2 separate regions of the Homo sapiens genome follow, and region 2 is linked to region 1. Evidence: promoter capture Hi-C in human tissues and cell types (Jung and others, 2019). All regions are on one chromosome and are shown on one strand. The core of a region is centred on a gene start or on the middle of the fragment in contact, and the rest is flanking DNA. Distances in the headings are between cores, read along the strand shown. Region 1 holds the start of GAS6 (growth arrest specific 6). Region 2 overlaps TMEM255B (transmembrane protein 255B).

Evidence for each region. The method cuts DNA at HindIII sites, captures the fragments that hold promoters and counts their contacts. A contact is called where the count stands out against the background at its distance.
Region 2: a fragment that was not itself captured here is called in contact with the fragment with the promoter of GAS6 in region 1 in 2 of the 25 tissues and cell types used here (mesendoderm cells and spleen).

Annotation. Positions count from the first base shown.
Region 1 is chr13:113,861,485-113,866,268 of GRCh38, forward strand. GAS6 (growth arrest specific 6) reads right to left here and starts at 2,592. Exons shown (of 15, transcript NM_000820.4): 1 at 2,349-2,592; 2 at 2,091-2,257. The coding sequence starts at 2,436. It overlaps GAS6-DT (GAS6 divergent transcript), which reads left to right and starts at 2,693. Exons shown (of 2, transcript NR_044993.1): 1 at 2,693-2,811; 2 at 3,526-4,784. RefSeq lists silencers at 1,616-1,665, 2,146-2,205, 2,226-2,285 and an enhancer at 2,006-2,597. The HindIII fragment of the contact is 22,898 bases long and covers 1-4,784 here.
Region 2 is chr13:113,786,315-113,791,574 of GRCh38, forward strand. All of the region lies in intron 3 of TMEM255B (transmembrane protein 255B), which reads left to right. Among named protein-coding and RNA genes, the nearest start is that of GAS6-AS1, 27 kb to the right of the region's middle. RefSeq lists enhancers at 1,876-2,405, 2,406-2,934. The HindIII fragment of the contact is 4,986 bases long and covers 951-5,260 here.

The DNA.
Region 1 (4,784 bases), core at 1,342-3,841:
TGAGCAACATTTCAAAGACAAGGAGCCCCTGGCCTTTGACAGGGAGAAGTTCATGGATGATTTTCATGCATTAGCAGGAAGTTGTGCTTGGACAGTCCCCTCGGGCCTGGGGTCTCCCAAGAGTGTGGCAGAGGATGCAGTGGAGACTAGGGTCCTGGGAGGGGTGGGCCTGGTGTGCTGGAGCCGGCTGGGACTCAAGCCAGCCTCTGGACCCTGCCCCTGCCCCTGCCCCAACCAGGCTGTCCCCAGCATCCACCTGCCGGCAGGAACCGGAAACAGAAACAGAAACAGACAGCAAGCTAATGGCCAGATCCAAAAACCAGAGGGAAAGCGGGTTGTTATCATTTGGCATGGGGGCTGGGAAGGAGGGCAGAACGCTGGGAACTGAGATGACGCTGAAAAGAAGCCGACAGAGGCTGCTGGGGCCAGGCTGTGAGAGGATGGGAGGGATGCCTCCCGGGCACCAAAGCCACTCAGCCACATGCAGGAGGGTGAGGAGATGAACATGCCAGCACAGAAACCATGTGACGCAACCGCAGTTGTATTAAAGTGATGGGGTCCTGAGTGCTGTTTTCATTTTCTTATCTTCATTTCACACCTTTGTAAATAAAGTTATTAAATTAAAATTGGAAAACCAGGTAGGGGACTGACTTGGGAAGAACAGCACAGTACATCCAGGCAGCGTCCAGTCTGATTGACATGGGCCCTGCAGGTCCTGGAGGACAGCGAGGAGGGGCTGCGGCCAGGCCTTGCAGGGCTGCGCGGAGCGGGTACTGTGGGGTGGGGGTGACCCTGCTGCCCTCAACTCCCATCACCAGCACGCCCCATGCCACAGTCCCTGTGCACGCAGAATGTTCCGGGTGAGGACGCTGTTGGAGGACACTGCACCAGCCACACGACCAACCCCACAGCTGGGCGGCGACTCCGAGCGACCAGGGCACACAGGCCCACCTGCCTCAGCCAGCAGCACAGGCCAGGATTCATCATTAAAGAAACAGGAAAACAGAGAGGCCGGGGAGAGCGACCAAGCTAGGCTGAGCTGAAGGAGGGCACGGGCCTGTGGGGCTGTGGGCAGCCCCCGGGCAACAGCCCCAGGTGCGTCATCTCTGCAGGGATGAGCTATGTCCACAAGTGCACAGTGGCCATCTGACAGCCTCAGAGCTTTCAGAAAGGCAGATCTAAGAGGGGTCAAGTCAACCACTAGAAATGTAAGCGGAAACAGGCCTCCATGGTTCATCCAGAACCACTCTTTCATCCCGGGTGACATTTATTCCACCCCAGGAGAATTCTTTAAAAGGAACATTCCAGCAGAACGGAAAACTTCGCTATGAAATCACCCTGACTTCAGGGCGGGAGGGACGTCAACGGGAATCCACACCTTCTCGGACTTTCCAAAGTCACCCGCTCCCGAGCCCGCAGGATAGAGTGGCCAGGCCGTCCTCACACGGCGGCTCCTGCGGGAGGCGGCCCCGGGCGCCCCGCCTTCTCCAAGGACATTCCTAACCGAGGTGCCGGGGCCAGCACCGTCGGGCTCCTGAAAGCACCCGCTGCCTCCAGGAGAGCACCTGGCAGAACGGGGCCGCGGAGCCGCCCTCCCCTCCCGCATGCGGCCCCGCTCGATTCCTGGAATCTTATTTTTGGACCTGCTGCCGCAAGCAGTTCCCGCCCTCGGCCCTTTCAATTCCTCTTTCGGGAGGGGACTGCTCTCCACCCCTCTCAGGAGGACGAGGCGCGGCCCGGGGGTTCCTCACCTCCAGCCCAGCAGAGGGAGGGCCGCGGGGAAGCGGTTTGGGTTTTAACCATTGTGTTTCTCTCGCACTTTGGAAACGGACTCCCGGCTTCCCCGCGGGGAGGCGTCTGACAGCGAGCGTTTCCCGGACAGCCCCGCAGCGTCTCACCGGCCTGCGCGGGGATCCCGGGGTCGCCGGGGGATGGGCGTGGGGGACGCGGGGCGGGCCGGGGCTCCTGGGACCCTGAGGCCAGGCCTCGCCGCGCGGAGCTGGGGGGCGGCAGCAGCGCTGCCTCTCGGGAGCGGTTGGAGGCGCGCGGGCGCCAGGGGTTCCCCCGCATCCCGCCCGCCGGCTGCTCACCGTCTCGGGGTCGTTCTCGAACACCTCCCGCGCCTCCTCGCGGCTGCACAGCTCCTCCACGCACTCCCTCTCCAGGTGGCCCTGCTTGGCCTCCTCGAAGACCTGAAAGGCGCGGCGCTGCCTGGGCCGCAGGAACTGCGTGGCCTCGCGCGCCGGCAACAGCGCGGCTGCCCGGAGGGAGAGAGGGGGACGCGTCAAGCCGCGCCCGGAGCCTCCTCCCGCCGCCCGGGGACGGGGTCTCGGGCCCGCGGGACTCACCAAGCGCGCACTCCGCGGCCAGCAGCAGCAGCAGCAGCTGCGGCGCGCGGCGCAGGGCGGCGGGCCCGGGCGAGAGCGAAGGGGCCATGGCGGGCCGGGGACGCGCGGTCAGAGCGCCCGGGAGGCCGAGGCGAGCCGCGGGCGCCGCGGGGCGGAGGCTCCGGTCATCCCGTCCTGGCGGCCCTGAAGGTCACATCGCGGCGGCGGCGGCGGCGGCGGCTGCGGCACCTCAAGCGCTCGGTCTGGGCGTGTTCGGGCGGCTGCGCGCGGGGAGGCGGCGGGGGCGGGACCAGCGCGCGGGCGGGGCGCGGGTTCCCGGGAGGATCCGGGCGCGGGGAAAGCGGAGCGTCCGGGACGCGGCGGGACTCGAGTGTTTCGGAAAAGGAGCGTCTCCCCAGGCGGTGGTTGTCTTCACTAGCGATGGGGTAAAAGGAGGACGCAATACCTGGTTCAACTTGAGCAGGTACATTTTGACCATATTCCAGGTGTCATGTGAAGATTTAAGCCTCTTTCCAACCCCCACTCCCCCCGAATCTACTGCATCCTTTTTGGAGTCTTCATTCTTAGGCACATTTTGTCAAGACTTAAAACCTACCAAAGAAAAGATACACTGAGGTCAGATCCAATCCCACTGGGGGCCAGCGAGTGAAATGCGACGGTTTCCTTTTATAATCTCTGTTTTTCATAATGATGACATTAAAAATCTTGAGGTTTCCCAGTAGATATTTAAGCTGAAAGCAACATTGTGCTTGTCTTCAGAGACCAAGACTTTCTGGCTCTTGTCTTGGAATATTTCGCAAAGTCATAGGCAAAACACACACAAACAAACAGAACCAAAACACAGCAGACCACTCACGGGGGACCGAACCAGGCAGTTAGCCCAGCATCCCCCTGCTGCGGGAGGAGGGAGCTTGGATACTCCTCTCTGGAGAATCCTGCTCTGGAAATCCCCACACCCCAAAATGCAATGTAGAGGGGCAGTGAGTCAGCACCTCACCCCAAATGAATGGCCGTTCTGCTCAGCAGGCTCAACGCTTAGATCCCCAGATCCAGTTTCTCTTTGCTTTCTGTAATTGGAAGAATGGAATAGGATTGCTGCTAGAAATCTTTGAGGTCACTGGTTTGAAAGTGGGATTATGAGCATGAATTTTTGTTGTTGTTGTTTGTTTGTTTTCAGACGGAGTCTCGCTATGTTGCCCAGGCTGGGGTGCAGTGGCGTGATCTCTGCTCACTGCAAGCTCCGCCTCCCGGGTTCACGCCATTCTCCTGCCTCAGCCTCCCGAGTAGCTGGGACCACAGGCGCCCGCCACCACGCCCGGCTGATTTTTTTTATTTTTAGTAGAGACGGGGTTTCACCGTGTTAGCCAGGATGATCTCAATCTCCTGACCTCGTGATCCGCCCGCCTGGGCCTCCCAAAGTGCTGGGATTACAGGTGTGAGCCACCGCGCCTGGCCGAGCATGTTAATTTAAGCAAATGAATGTCCCTGGGAATGATCTTCAAGGAGAATTAAAGTGGGATAGAGAAGTCATCTATCTGCACCTGTGTCTGAACCAGAATGACGAGGCACTTCCATGTCAGCTAGTTACTGGAGCAGGCGGAGTAAGGAGTACCCCTGGGCTTCTGCCCCGAAACCACCACGGCTACTTCAAAACAATATTACATTAATTTTCCTGCTTGTTCTTGAGAAGCACTGGTTTGAAAAATTGGATGGGGTGATACATGTTTTAATCAGTATTTACAAGGCTCCTTAATCACTTCATCAGACAATTCATTGAGCACCTACTATGTGCCAGGCAGTGTAATTCATTGAGCACCTGCTGTGTGCCAGGCAGTGTCTGAGGCACTTCTAGCTATTATTTCCTAAGGGTTCCAGCAGCCCATGGATAAACTTCAAAGAGTGTAAGCTCCTAAAAATTGTTCGTATTTTCTGCACATTTTTGTAGTTTTGGAGAAGAGAGTTAATGGAGTTCTTGCCATTCTCAGAATTATTTGATCCCTTTAGGAATGAGCATCTCTAGCCTCTGCCTGTTCATCTGGGACAATCTGCACCTGGGCGTGGACCTGCTGCTTCAGATCAGTAGGTATCAGAATGAACTCAGTTGGATGGGGCAGTTCAGGACCCCTGGCCTCCTTTTAGTCTGGACCCCACTCTCATTCCTCATATTCTCAATTCACTCTTTCTACTGAGTTACTATCCTAGTAATGACAATGCCTCCTATCATCTAGAGACTTGGTTTGATACAATGCATTCACATACAACTGCTCGTTTTGATTTCTATAACTGGGGAATACAGAAAGCAAATATGCGGTGCAATGGAGGATGTCTCCATTACCCCAGATAACTCCAAAATTCTTCACCTAGTTACCAGTGCAGGAAATTCGTTCGAAGGCAGAAATGGAAAATGAATAAGAAACAATTTGGATGTGTTCCAAA
Region 2 (5,260 bases), core at 2,194-4,693, 74 kb before region 1:
CCACTGTCATCACCATCCCCATCACCATCACTGTCGTCACTGTAATTACCGTCTTCACTGTCATCACCGTCACCATCGTCACCATCCCCACTGTCATCACTGTCATCACCCTCGTCACCATCATCACTGTTGTCATCACCATCACCATCATCAGTGTCATCACCATCACTGTTGTCACCATCATCACCATCACCATCATCACCATTGTCACCACTGTCATCACCATTGTCACCATCGTCAACATCATCACCGTCATCACCATCATCATCACCATCATCACTGTTGTCACCATCACCGTCGTCACTGTTGTCACCATCATCACCATCATCACTGTCGTTACCCTCATCACCATCATCACTGTCATCACCATCACCGTCATCACTGTCGTCACTAGCAGCAGCTGCTTCCTCTCTGCTGGGGAGTGAATTTCCTCCCTGGCATCCACGTCAGAGAGCAGGCAGGAAAAGGGATTGCAGACGAGTCATCAGAAGAAACCATTACGATGGATTTCTCATTTCTCGGTCTGGGCTGGTGGCGTTGGAGATCATCTGTAGTGGCCTCTCATTCACTGAGAAGGAGGCCACGTCTTGGTTTTTGAGGAGGAGTGAGCCCTGTTCCAGGCTCACTAGTTACACATGTGACATGCATGGGGCATGCCTTCACACAGGAGACCACATTACTCCTGGCAATGGGCCCCGTAAGGCACTTCTGAGAGGTTCTAGTTGTTCGTTGTTTCATACCTGGACTCTGACACTTTAATGAACAGAACATGTGAAAATATGTCATAATTAAATAATTTTAAAATTTTGTCTCTAATAGAGAAAACTTACAGTAGGCCTTGTGCAAACCTGCTAGCTCCACAGTCAGCCACGTGCACGCGCAGGGGTGTTTTCGGAAGAGCTACATTGGGCATCTCCCAGAGCCAACGGTCTGGATTTTAATTTGGTTGCTCTCCTTTATCACTTATTTATTAGCATTTGAAAAACATGTATTCTAGACTAAAATAATGCCTGATTGGTTTAAGTTGGAAAACAGTTTTTAAACGTTCTAAGAATTTCTTCAGTGTGTGGGGAAGGCTTAAAAGGACAGAGGCTGCCTGTTGCTGACCTGAGTGGTGCGGCTTCTCTTCTCCGTTTGCTCACAGAAACCGATGATAGGTGAAATGAGCAGGTCAAAGTTCAGGGTCTTTGGAGGGTGTGGATGGTGCGAGTGTAGGGTGTAGACAGTGGCGACCATGTGGGGAGCCCCTGAGTTTTGTGGTTCTGGGACACCCGCATGGCAGGTGTGCAGGTCAGACGTGAAGAAGGGAAGCTGGAGAGGAAATTGTTAATGAGCTGAAATTGTACATGGCTTAGAACTGTGAGCAGGGACCTGCTTGTGAAGTGAATTAGGTTGTGCCTGGGAAAGCAGTGGGGAGGGGAGTGTGAGAGCCGTGAATGTGTCAAATGCTCATGGTGAATCGCGTCAGCTGGGGCTGAGGGTGACCCCTGGATTGATGGCAGGCAGGGCATGGTGACCTTGGGAGGGGCAGATTTGGGCTTGGTGACCCAGGAAGGAGGAACCAGCTGCAGGTGCCGTCCACTCTCTCCAGGAGGTTTACTCTAAAGGAAGCGAGGCGGAGGAGAGGGCATGGACGGGGAGGAGGTGTTGAGAAGACATCTGTGGTTAAGACGGGATGGGCAGCTCCAGGTGTCGGCCAGGGGCACCATGCCGCAGAGGGGAAGGCGGAGGGAGTGGGGATGGGCAGAGGGGAAGGCGGAGGGGGTGGGGATGGGCAGAGGGGAAGGCGGAGGGGGTGGGGATGGGCAGAGGGGAAGGCGGAGGGGGTGGGGATGGGCAGAGGGGAAGGCGGAGGGGGTGGGGATGGGCAGAGGGGAAGGCGGAGGGGGTGGGGATGGGCAGAGGGGAAGGCGGAGGGGGTGGGGATGGGCAGAGGGGAAGGCGGAGGGGGTGGGGATGGGCAGAGGGGAAGGCGGAGGGGGTGGGGATGGGCAGAGGGGAAGGCGGAGGGGGTGGGGATGGGCAGAGGGGAAGGCGGAGGGGGTGGGGATGGGCAGAGGGGAAGGCGGAGGGGGTGGGGATGGGCAGCAGAGGCTGCATCAGGTGCCTCTCGCAGGTGGAGCTGCTGGCCTGGGTGGGGGCTCAGGGGTTGCACTGCCTGCGTGGCCTGGCACTGGCGCAGCAGAGGCTCCTCTCTGCCCTCGGCTGGTGGCTCCCTGTGTCTCCTCCTGCCACACGTGGCCATCCTAGTGCTGGATTTATGGCGTACACAGCCATCTTAGCCGTCATCGTGTGGGTGATAACAGACCTGTGAGATGGAAGTGGCTGCTCTTGCCCATCCGGGCCCTGGCTCTGTGCCGTCATCAGCACGGTGTCACCGTGTGGCCGCCCTCCACCCGTTTGTCTCTGCACACTCGACCTGTGTACTCCACTCGCGCTTCTGGCCCTCACCATCGCCGTCACCTCCTGCCTGGGCCCTGCCGCTGCCCTCACCCCAGCCAGAGTTCTGGGAAACCCCAGGGAAGCTGGCTCCCCTCCCACTGACCACTGCACCCGGGGGCCGCGCCGCGCCTCCCTCCCTCCCTCCTGCCCCACTCATCCTGCCTCGTGGAGGCCACCGACCGACTGCCCTGGTGCTCCTTAGACCCACATGCCATGCTGTGGGGCCTTTGCAGGTGCTGCTGGGTGGCCTGGGCAGGGTCTCCACCTTGTTGAGTCTCTGCTCGAATGTCCCAGACCACAGAGACCCAGCCGCCCTCTTGAGGTAGCTGCACCCGGGCCACTCTCCCTCCCCACCTTATCCCCTTCCTTCTTTTCCTCTGATCACCATGACCTTATGCTCAGTGTGGTTTTTTTTTTTTTGTAAATCTACTTTCTTCTGTTGGAATGTAAACTCTGAGAGCAGAGGCATTTGAAGGTGACCTTTGCTCAAGAGAAGATGCCCCAACAGAATGCAATGAGATCTTCACAGCCTTCAGTCCAGATCCTTGTGGCTCCAGTGCAGGGACAGAGTTTCTCCTGGCAGTGGCCGTAGACATGCGCAGTCCTCATGGGCTATGGAGAGTGGGTTGCTTGTGTCTTTGGAGAATTGATCTGGTTCCTGCTATGCACGTTCTAGGTCACAAAAAATTTATCTGAACAAGAGTTAACAATGCCTGGAGAAAAGTCGTGACAGAGCCAGGCAGTCCAGGGGGATGTGGGCTGTTCCCTGAGGCAGCTCTCGTGAGGCTGGTTCTGGCAATGACTTTCGGACTTAGCCAGAGGAGCTGGAGGAGGCCATTCCCAATGTCTTTCCCAACACCACTGCCTGGACTCGGGTTGAAGCACCATGAGAAGCTCTTGGCATTTTCATGTTTCTGGCTGTCCTAGTGCTGACTGACCAGGCACATGGACATCCTAACACTGAACTGACCATGTACATGGACATCCTAGCCCTGGACTGACCGGGCATGTGGACATCCTAGCCCTGGACTGACCGTGTACATAGACATCCTAATGCTGAACTGACCGTGTACATGGACATCCTAGCCCTGGACTGACTGGGCACGTGAACATCCTAGCACTGGACTGACCATGTACGTGGATGTCCTAGTGCTGAACTGAACAGGCACGTGGACATCCTAACACTGAACTGACCGGGCATGTGGACATCCTAGCGCTGGACTGACTGGGCACGTGGACATCCTAGCACTGGACTGACTGGGCACCTGAACATCCTAGCGCTGGACTGACTGGGCACGTGGACATCCTAGTGCTGGATTCACTGGGCACATGGACATCCTAGTGCTGGACTGACCGGGCACATGGACATCCTAGTGCTGGACTGACCGGGCACATGGACATCCTAACACTGAACTGACCAGACACGTGGACATCCTAACACTGAACTGACCGGGCATGTGGACATCCTAGCGCTGGACTGACCGGGCACGTGGGCATCCTAACACTGAACTGACCAGACACGTGGACATCCTAGCACTGAACTGACTGGACACATGGACATCCTAGCTGTGGACTGACCGGACACATAGACATCCTAGCACTGAACTGACTGGACACATGGACATCCTAGCTGTGGACTGACCGGACACGTGGACATCCTAGCACTGAACTGACTGGACACATGGACATCCTAGCTGTGGACTGACCGGACACGTAGACATCCTAGCACTGAACTGACTGGACACATGGACATCCTAGCTGTGGACTGACCGGACACGTGGACATCCTAGCACTGAACTGACTGGACACATGGACATCCTAGCTCTGGACTGACCGGACACGTAGACATCCTAGCACTGAACTGACTGGACACATGGATATCCTAGCTGTGGACTGACCGGACACGTGGACATCCTAGCACTGAACTGACTGGACACATGGACATCCTAGCTGTGGACTGACCGGACACGTGGACATCCTAGCACTGAACTGACTAGACACATGGACATCCTAGCTCTGGACTGACCGGACACGTAGACATCCTAGCATTGAACTGACTGGACACATGGATATCCTAGCTCTGGACTGACCGGACACGTAGACATCCTAGCACTGAACTTGCTGCGCGTGGCCACACTCTCGCTGAATTTTACCTTTCACACTGAAAGAGCGGGAGGAAGGACAGCCAGGCAGAGCTGGGACATCTGCGAGGACGTTCGCAGGGTGGGAAGTGTTATGCATGACCAAGTTTGAATGTGTTTATGAAACATGGGTGATGGAAGGTAGACCCTGCAATTTTTAGGGATGCTCTAACAATTCGGTGCTTCTGTGATGTTTTGGGTGAAATTGGGTGGGGGTGAAATATGAACACCTCTCAACGGTCTGGGCCTGTGTCCTGCCCAGGGCTGGGTTGCAGCAGGTTCCTGGCTCCATGGCATTCATGAGGGGTTACTGGGTTGGAAGGTGAACATCTAGGGCCAGCACATCCTGGCAGAGTCTCTGCTGCACGCATTTACGGTGAGAGACCCAGCAGAGCCTGGATGAGTCACCTGCCACCCACTTCTGAAAGTGGCCGGGGCATCTAGCGGGTGGCACCTGCCGGCCGCCGAGCCGGACAGGGACGCTGGATCCTCCTGGGATGGCTTCGGCTCCCACTAGGCAGATGTGGGCTTCCTAACGTTGGGCAGCCCCAACGAATCTGGGGGACCACACTGGTCACACACCCCTCAGGGATCTGTGGGAGCGACGTCGTGTGGACAGATGTCCCCTTGGGGACACCAGTGGCTCTGAGGGTGGTGACTCAACCAGGAGCAGGGAA